Regions from separate parts of the Homo sapiens genome. Here regions 2 and 3 are each linked to region 1. The links are contacts of gene promoters, found by promoter capture Hi-C in human tissues and cell types (Jung and others, 2019). All regions are on one chromosome and are shown on one strand. The core of a region is centred on a gene start or on the middle of the fragment in contact, and the rest is flanking DNA. Distances in the headings are between cores, read along the strand shown.

What was found. Contacts are between HindIII fragments. The study calls those that stand out against the background at their distance.
Region 2: a fragment that was not itself captured here is called in contact with the fragment with the promoter of C1orf216 in region 1 in 2 of the 25 tissues and cell types used here (H1 embryonic stem cells and hippocampus).
Region 3: a fragment that was not itself captured here is called in contact with the fragment with the promoter of C1orf216 in region 1 in 2 of the 25 tissues and cell types used here (dorsolateral prefrontal cortex and spleen).

Annotation. Positions count from the first base shown.
Region 1 is chr1:35,717,608-35,720,307 of GRCh38, forward strand. C1orf216 (chromosome 1 open reading frame 216) reads right to left here and starts at 1,277. Exons shown (of 2, transcript NM_152374.2): 1 at 1,100-1,277. It also overlaps a transcript of CLSPN not described here. RefSeq lists a silencer at 1,009-1,438. The HindIII fragment of the contact is 4,693 bases long and covers 1-2,700 here.
Region 2 is chr1:35,850,143-35,852,842 of GRCh38, forward strand. AGO4 (argonaute RISC component 4) reads left to right here. Exons shown (of 18, transcript NM_017629.4): 16 at 15-116; 17 at 712-911. Among named protein-coding and RNA genes, the nearest start is that of AGO1, 32 kb to the right of the region's middle. The HindIII fragment of the contact is 6,144 bases long and covers 1-2,700 here.
Region 3 is chr1:35,582,548-35,585,247 of GRCh38, forward strand. The region is part of intron 3 of TFAP2E (transcription factor AP-2 epsilon); the gene reads left to right. Among named protein-coding and RNA genes, the nearest start is that of TFAP2E-AS1, 6.0 kb to the left of the region's middle. The HindIII fragment of the contact is 9,807 bases long and covers 1-2,700 here.

The DNA of each region.
Region 1 (2,700 bases), core at 27-2,526:
TTCCTCTGGGTCCCCACTGCGCTGGGTATACACTGTCTTATCCAACTTTGCATCCGTCCCTGGCATACATGGTCGACGATCAGTGAATGTCTATTCAACTGGCATTTTTGGTTTGTGGTAATGATCTTGTAATAGCAGTTTGTAATCTGGCTTGGACCTCCTGTATATATCCTCCATCATATTCCCCAGAGTCAGCCAGCATAGAGCCCTGAACCAGGCTGTCTGTGCATACAGGTACTTGCTAAGTGAGTGAATGGGAGAAGAGACTGCAGTGAATTTCCATGCTCAGGAATCCACTCTTGACTCCCCAGGGCTGGAAGAGCTGGGTTCTGGAAGAGCTGGGTTTGGTTCCCTTTCCTACCCCAGCCAGGGAGCCCCGCCTTCCCCAGTGACAAGCTTTTCTTCTGAGCCTGCCCCCTTCCCTCCCAATGCCTCTGGAACACAGCCACTATCTTGCGGTCCCCGTCCCTAGCTTGCTCCATTCTGAGGCCCTGGAGGGAGGGCATACCACACCACTCTTCTCTCCTCCATAACCTGCTTCTAACCAAAATTAGGATTTGAACTGACAAAGGGATTCTACTGACCAAACAGCACTGGGATTAGAACAATTGAAGAGCATGAAGAGGAAGGGTATTGTAAGTGGAGCCGGCACTGGAAGGCGCTCCATAGGTGGCATGGACCCTCCCCACCCCCAGCAATGGGCAGAGAAGTCCTGGGGAGAAGGGTGTAGGAACAGTTCGTTTCTAATCGCCCTCTAAGCAAGGCTTGTGGGAAGGTGCCTAGAGATCTCCCCTCGCCCCAATTTTTTATTTTTCCTATACTTGGATGGGGCCGTGAAGGAAGCTGGGATGGGGTGGGGGTGGCGCTAGGGATCACAGGGTTCTCAGAGATAGTAAAATGAGAACCCCGACACGCCAGGACTAGGTCTCCGCCCAAACAGGAGGCAGCCTCCTTTTCTGGCCTTGCGGGAGTGGGAGACCACCCCAGGAGACAGAGACCATCCTTCCCTAGTCTCCTCGAAGGAGGCCACTGTGACTCCCCGCTTCCCGCGGCTGAGCCCCAAGCCCCACCCCGCCTCGGGCCCCAGACTCGGACTCACGGCGTAGAGGCGCCCGCTCCGGCGCGTCTGGCTCTGGCTCCGCCCGGCCCTGGTGGTGTCTAGTCCCTGGGCTGGGGGTTCCTCGGCCTGGGCGTCTCCGCGGTCCAGGCGTGGGTGCGGGGCTCCCGGGCAGCGCGCCCAGCCCCAGTCCCGGACTGCGGAGTCAGGCGGCGTCTGCGCAGCAGGGCGGAGCGACCGGTCCCACGTGGGCCGGTTCGGTTTTCCGCGGAGCCCCGCGCCAGGCCCCTGCGCCGGAACCGCTTCGCCCCCGCGCGGGGCCGCGTTGACCCAGGCCTTCCAGGTCCGGTGCTCTCTCCTATTGGCATTCGCTGGGCCCTTCCCATCAGTTAGCCTCGCTGCAGACACCGTGCCATTTTCAAGTGAAATCTGATTAGTCACCACCTTCCGGCGTTAAACTCCTCAATGGCTTCCCCACCGCCGGGACAACCCCTAAGGCGGTAGCCGCGGGGCTCTGTGCGTCCTGCCCTTCGTCTGCCTCTCCGGCTTCGTCCTCTACCCTCCCTCTCCGCAGTTACCCTCCCACACGCCCCTTTCCGCCACGCGGCTTTGGCACGCACTGTTCCCTCGGTCTAGCATTCTCTTCCCCCTCTCGACTTACTCCTATTTCAGATCTCTTCTCGGAGAGATCTCTGACTCCCTAGATCACGTTCGTTCCCCCCTTTATGTCAGAGCACATTCCTTTTCTTCATAGCATTTATCACAATTTGGAATTATATATTCCTTTTTGTGCTTACTTGACTAAAGTCACTGAGGCCGGGTGCGGTGGCTCACGCCTGTAACCCCAGCACTTTGGGAGGCCGAGGCGGGCAGATAACCTGAGGTCAGGAGTTTGAGACCAGCCTGGCCAACATGGTGAAACCCCATCTCTACTAAAAATACAAAAATTAGCCGGGCTTGGTGGCGGGCGCCTGTAATCCCAGCTACTTGGGAGGCTGAGGCAGGAGAATCGCTTGAACCTGGGAGGTGGAGGTTGCAGTGAGCCAAGACTGCACCACTGCACTCCAGTCTGGGCAACAGAGTGGGACTCCGTCTCAAAAAAAAAAAAAAAAAAAAAAAAAAAAAGAGAGAGAGAGAAAGAAGATCCAAGCCTGGGACAGGGCTCAGGGCTGATGTCCTGTACCCGGGACGGGGGCTCTCCGCAGGACACAGAGCCCACCCATGATGCCTGTGAAGTGGGTACCAGTGCTTTTGCCCAGGTGAGGAGGAACAGCGTGATAAAAAAGGGTCTTGGGTTCCAAACTCCAGTGGATTCTTCTCAGAGCTCCACTCTACTGAAGCTTGACCCCCCTCACTCTTTTGCACCCTGGGGAAATGTGAAGTTGGGGGCCCTGTTTGGAATAAAAGAGAACAGAGTTCAGTAATTGCTGACCCTAATATATGAGGTGCCCTCTTCCAGTTTCAATTTGATTCCAAGTCACCATTCTGCAACCTAGAGACTAATTGGCAAATTAAATCACACCAAGAAATCCTATATGCAAAAACAGGGAAAATGGAAAAGAAATTTTTATGATTATGATGACTATTTTAAAAGGGAAAAGGAAATAAGAAGGAGAAGGCAGAAGTAATTCAAACTTTGCACA
Region 2 (2,700 bases), core at 112-2,611, 130 kb after region 1:
TTTGTTTTTTGTAGGTAGGGAAAAGTGGCAATGTACCAGCAGGCACTACAGTGGATAGTACCATCACACATCCATCTGAGTTTGACTTTTACCTCTGTAGTCATGCAGGAATTCAGGTAATTTGGAAGCTGGTTCAGATCTTTGACTTGATAGGGAGATGTTTGCAAATTCAGCAACTAGCTTGAGTCGACTTGTTATTTAACACCGTGCCTAACTTTGTTAATGCTTGTATCCTAGAATTATCTTTTGGTCTAGGTATCTGCTTGTAGGTGTGCTAGGCAGAAGTATTTCTGAGTTTAAGGAGTAGGTTTCAATTATTTTCTCTTCTCGTGTCATGTCAGAAATATATTAATCAGGCCAGGCATGGTGGCTCACGCTTGTAATCCAATCACTTTGGGAGGCCGAAATGGGCAGATCACCTGAGGTCAGGAGTTTGAGACCAGCCTGACCAATGTGGTGAAACCCCATCTCTACTAAAAAAAACAAAAATTATCTGGGCATGGTGGCGTGCACCTATAGTCCCAGCTACTTGGGAGGCCGAGGCAGGAGAATTGTTTGAAGTCCAGAGGCGGGGGTTTCTGTGAACCAAGATCGTACCACTGCACTCCAGCCTAGGTGACAGAGTGAGACTCCATCTCAAAAAAAAAAAAAAAAAAACAAAAACAAAAAACGAACAAAAAAAAAACATTAATCATAAAACTCTCTCCTCAGGGAACCAGCCGTCCCTCACATTACCAGGTCTTGTGGGATGACAACTGCTTCACTGCAGATGAACTCCAGCTACTGACTTACCAGCTGTGTCACACCTATGTGAGGTGCACTCGCTCAGTCTCTATTCCAGCCCCTGCATATTATGCCCGGCTTGTAGCATTTAGGGCAAGGTATCATCTGGTGGATAAAGATCATGACAGGCAAGTTTCTTAGGCACAATAAAGTCTCTTTATATTTTAGTAGCATGTTAAAAAAAATGAGCTACAATAGAAAACTTTTTTAAGGATTTAAACTTTCAGAGTTTAAATTGTAAGAAGCAAATAAAATTGCATGTGCCTCTGAGAGCTTGTAATGTGACTTTTGGTCCAAGAAGTGCTCAGGCTTGTTTATACTTGTGTTGTGTCTCTAAAGGAGTTTAATTTGGAGCTGCTTGTGGTTCTCCCATGGAGCCAAATGCATTTCAGTTCTGCTCAGGTCCTAAGTAGCCTCAAAAAGTGGTCAACACAGTACCCTGGCTCCGGTCAAAGTAGTCACAGGGCTGTGGATTCCACTTCATGCAAGTGAGGAGGCCTGACCAGTTCACTTTGCTTTTGGTACATTCTGGAAAAATACCCCAGAGTGAACCTGGATGTGTGTGTGGGAGTGGGGGCACAGATGATTCTCACTCTCAAATAGGCATCTCAGGAGAATCAGAGAATCTGTTATTTTGACCTATTCCTGAGCTACTATTAAATAGTTACACAAGCTCTCTGCATTAATTTTCTTTTCCAAATGACCATCTGTGAAGTGTAGCAGTTTCTGGGCTCTTCCCCAAGTCTGAATTCAGCTGCTAAATAGTAGACATTCCACTGCAAGTCTATTTCTGTAAGGGTTGAAAATACACTATTATGGAAAATGTCCAACTGTGGCTTTGTACCTTCCATTCCGTAATGTGCTTTCATTTATTCGGCATATTTATTAGGTATTGACTGTGTGCCTAGTACTGTGCTAGGTGCTAGAATTACTAAGATGAGTAAGACATGTTTCTTGTCCACGGGGATTTTATGTTTCAGTATGGGAGACAATACAGGCAAATATACAACTGACAAGTAGCCCAAGTCAGTACAGATAAAAGTGCAATGGGACACCAGAGGAGAGGCTTTTAGAGAAGATTTCATAGCTGGATGGATAGAATGGCTCTACAAAAAAGAGAAAAGAATTTTCAGGGCAGAGAGAACAAGGGACACAAAGGGGAAAAAGCAAGTGGCATGTTTGTACAGTAGCAAATTTTCTTTGGCTGGAGGATATTAAAGGGGAACAAGCAGGTATGAGGCTGGAAAAATATGTTAAAGCAAGACCGTGTTTGTTAAATGTAAAATGCTGTTCCTAGGATAGAATAGACAGGACTTAACAGTTAATTGGATATGCATGTCAGAGGAGAGGGTGAAGTAAAAGATGGCTAAGATTTTGAGCCTAGATGATAAGGATAATAATCACTTAAAGAGAAAGTCAGAAGAGGGATGGGGATTTACAGCTTGTCAAGCCCTTTATATCACATGGTATCCTTAAGTAGTATGTTTAGAAGTTGTTGTTGTTACTCCGAAAGACCAAAGTTCAGAGGAGTTATTATGTGTCCAAGGTTATATAGTTAGTGAAGGGAAGACAAGAAGAGACTGGTGGCACAATAGCATTTGCTGGGAATTTCCTATGTTCCATCACTATGCTAGGTACGTAGATGCATTCATTCAACTAATGGTTTATTGAGACTTTGTTGTATTATGTGCTAGACACCAAGGATACAGTGGTGAGCAAGGTGGACAAAATTGCTGCTTTCTTGGAGTTTATATCCCAGTGGGAAAATAAATAATTACCCAAGTAATAATTTAATTTCAATTGTGTTTAGTACCATGAAAGAAAAATATAGGATTCTGTTAAAGCATGTTCCAGGTGGCTCTGACCTGGACCTTAAAGTCAAAGAAGATTTCTGTGCAGAAAAATGACATTTGACTG
Region 3 (2,700 bases), core at 176-2,675, 130 kb before region 1:
GCCCAGGCTGGTCTCAAACTCCTGGCTTCCAGTGATCCTCCTGTCTTGGCCTCCCTAAGTGCTAGGGTTACAGGAGTGAGCAACTGCTCTCTTTTTTTTTTTTAATTAAAAAACTTTTTAGAGATAGGTCTCACTAAGTTGTTCAAGCTGGAGTTTGGTGGCTATTTACAGGCAAGATCATAGCACACTGCACCCTCGAACTCCTGAACTCAAGTGATCCCCCTGCCTGAGCCTCTCGAGTAACTGGGACTACATTCTCATGCTACCATACCATGCTATTTTCTTAATAATATCTTTTGAGGTGCAAAAGTTTTAGACTTTGATGAAGTCCAGTTTATCATCATTTTCTTTCTTTCTTTCTTTCTTTTTTTTTTGAGACCAGTCTCACTCTGTCGCCCAGGCTGGAGTGCAGTGGCGCTATCTCAGCTCACTGCAACTTCCGCCTCCCGGGTTCAAGCGATTCTCCTGCCTCAGCCTCCCAAGTAGCTGGGATTACAGGTGAGTGCCACCATGCTGGGCTAATTTTTGTATTTTTAGTAGAGACAGTTTCACCATGTTGGCCAAGTTGCTCTTAAACTCCTGACCTCAGGTGATCTGCCCGCTTCAGCCTCCCAAAGTGCTGGGATTCCAGGAGTCAGCCACCACACCTGGCCTATCATTTTCTTTTATGGGCCTTGCTTTTGGTGTTGTATCTAGGAACTCTTTGCTCAACCTGAGGTCACGAAGATTTTTCTCCTAAGTTTTCTGTTGTTGTTGTTGTTGTTATTTGTATTTTTAGTAGAGATGGGGTTTTCCCATGTTGTCCAGGCTGGTCTCAAACTCCTGACCTCAAATGATCCACCCGCCTTGCCTTCCAAAGTGGTAGGATTACAGGTGTAAGCCAGGACGCCTGGCCTTCCATGTTTTCTTCTAGAAAAAACTTGCAACTTTAACAAGGCTTCTTGGAGAGTCTGTTGCACACTTGCCTAGGTTCAGAAGTCAGACCATATCTACCACCTGCGGACAGAGTGCCTTGTCTGACAGGTTGAATAACCGGGAGCTCTTGTGTCTGCAGGAGTGTGTGTGTGTGTGTGTGTGTGTGTGTGTGTGTGTGTGAATGGCTTCTGCATATGTGACCAGCAGGACACCATTAGATCACTTCAGCTTCAGGAGTCACCACAGGGAATCCTGTTCTGTGTGTGTGGGAGACAAACTTTAGTGTCTCTGCTTTGCCCTGTGTGCTAGTTTAATTCCTACCTCCACCACTGCCCTTCTGTGACCGACCTGCTTCCCTAACCATGGATTCCATCCCTCTTGCCATTTTCAAGGGAAGAAGCTCTGAGAAAAAAAGGGACAGGTGGGGGAAGCAGCAAGGTCAGTCACTCATATACACAAACACATGAGCAATGTCATCTCTGCCCTTATATCTAGCAGCACCTATGTTTGCATAAATCTGGCATCAACAGGAGAAAGCACTTGCAAATATCCATATCTAGGCTACCACATTCCTCCATACTCCAGCTCATCCTCATTGCTGTATTTATCACAAGGGCATACAGTTCTTGTATACAGTCATCCTTTTTTATTTTTTTTGAGATGGAGTTTCGCTCTGTCGTCCAGGCTGGAGTGCAGTGGTGCAATCATAGCTCACTGCAGCCTCAAACTGGGCTCAGTCATTCTGTGGCCTCAGCCTTCCGAGCAGCTGGGACTATGGGCACATGCCACCATGCCTGGCTAACTTAAAAAAATTTTTTTTTGTAGAGATGAGGTCTCACTATGTTGCCCAGGCTGGTCTCAAACTTCTGGGCTCAAGTGATCCTCCTGCCTCAGTTTCCCAAAGTGTTGGGATTACAGGTGTGAGTTACCATGCTCAGCCAGCCTGGGCCCTAGGTTTTAATAGCAGTTGGATGGAGAAGGCTGCTCATCCTTTTTCTCCAACCCCTACTTCTGGTGAGGGGTGATGGGAGGGAAGACAGTTACTTTGCCCTTCTTTTTATTTTTAATTTATCAATTTTTTGTTTTTGTTTTTGTTTTTGTTTTTGAGACAGGGTCTCACTGTGCCACCCAGGCTGGCATGGTCAGCTCACTGCAACCTCTGCCTCTTGGGCTCAAGCAATCCTCCTACCTCAGCCTCCAGAGTAGCTGGGACTGCAGGCATGTGCAATCACGCCGGGCTAATTTTTGTATTTTTTGTAGAGACAAGGTCTCATTGTATTGCCCAGGCTGGTCTTGAACTCCTGGGCTCAATCCTCCCACCTCGGCCTCCCAAAGTGCTGGGATTACAGGTGTGAGCCACCGTGCCTGGCCTCATTTGTAGTTTTATTTGTTTGAAGTCAAGCTCGAGGTATAATTTTTTTATACATACAGTATAGTTCAGTTCGGGTTCCCAGAGCCCTTGCATCATTAGCTTATTTCATATTCACTCATGGCCACCTGTGCCAAGACCCTGCCCTCCACACACTCATGCTTGGTAGGGAAGACACCCATGGAAACAGACCAGGAAGGTTCAGTGCGGTAAGGCCAGGGATGGGGGTGAGAGGGAGCTGGGGGGCAGGGGAGAGAAGCTCTGCACAGGGGTTGGTGCCTAAACTCAGTAGAGTGGAGCAGGACCCCTGAGAACCGAAGGAGCACTGTGGGGCTCAAAGAGCTCACACCCTGGGAGTCACTACATCCCAGGAGGCACTTCACACTTGTTCCATTTGGCCTGTGCTGGGTTTTTAA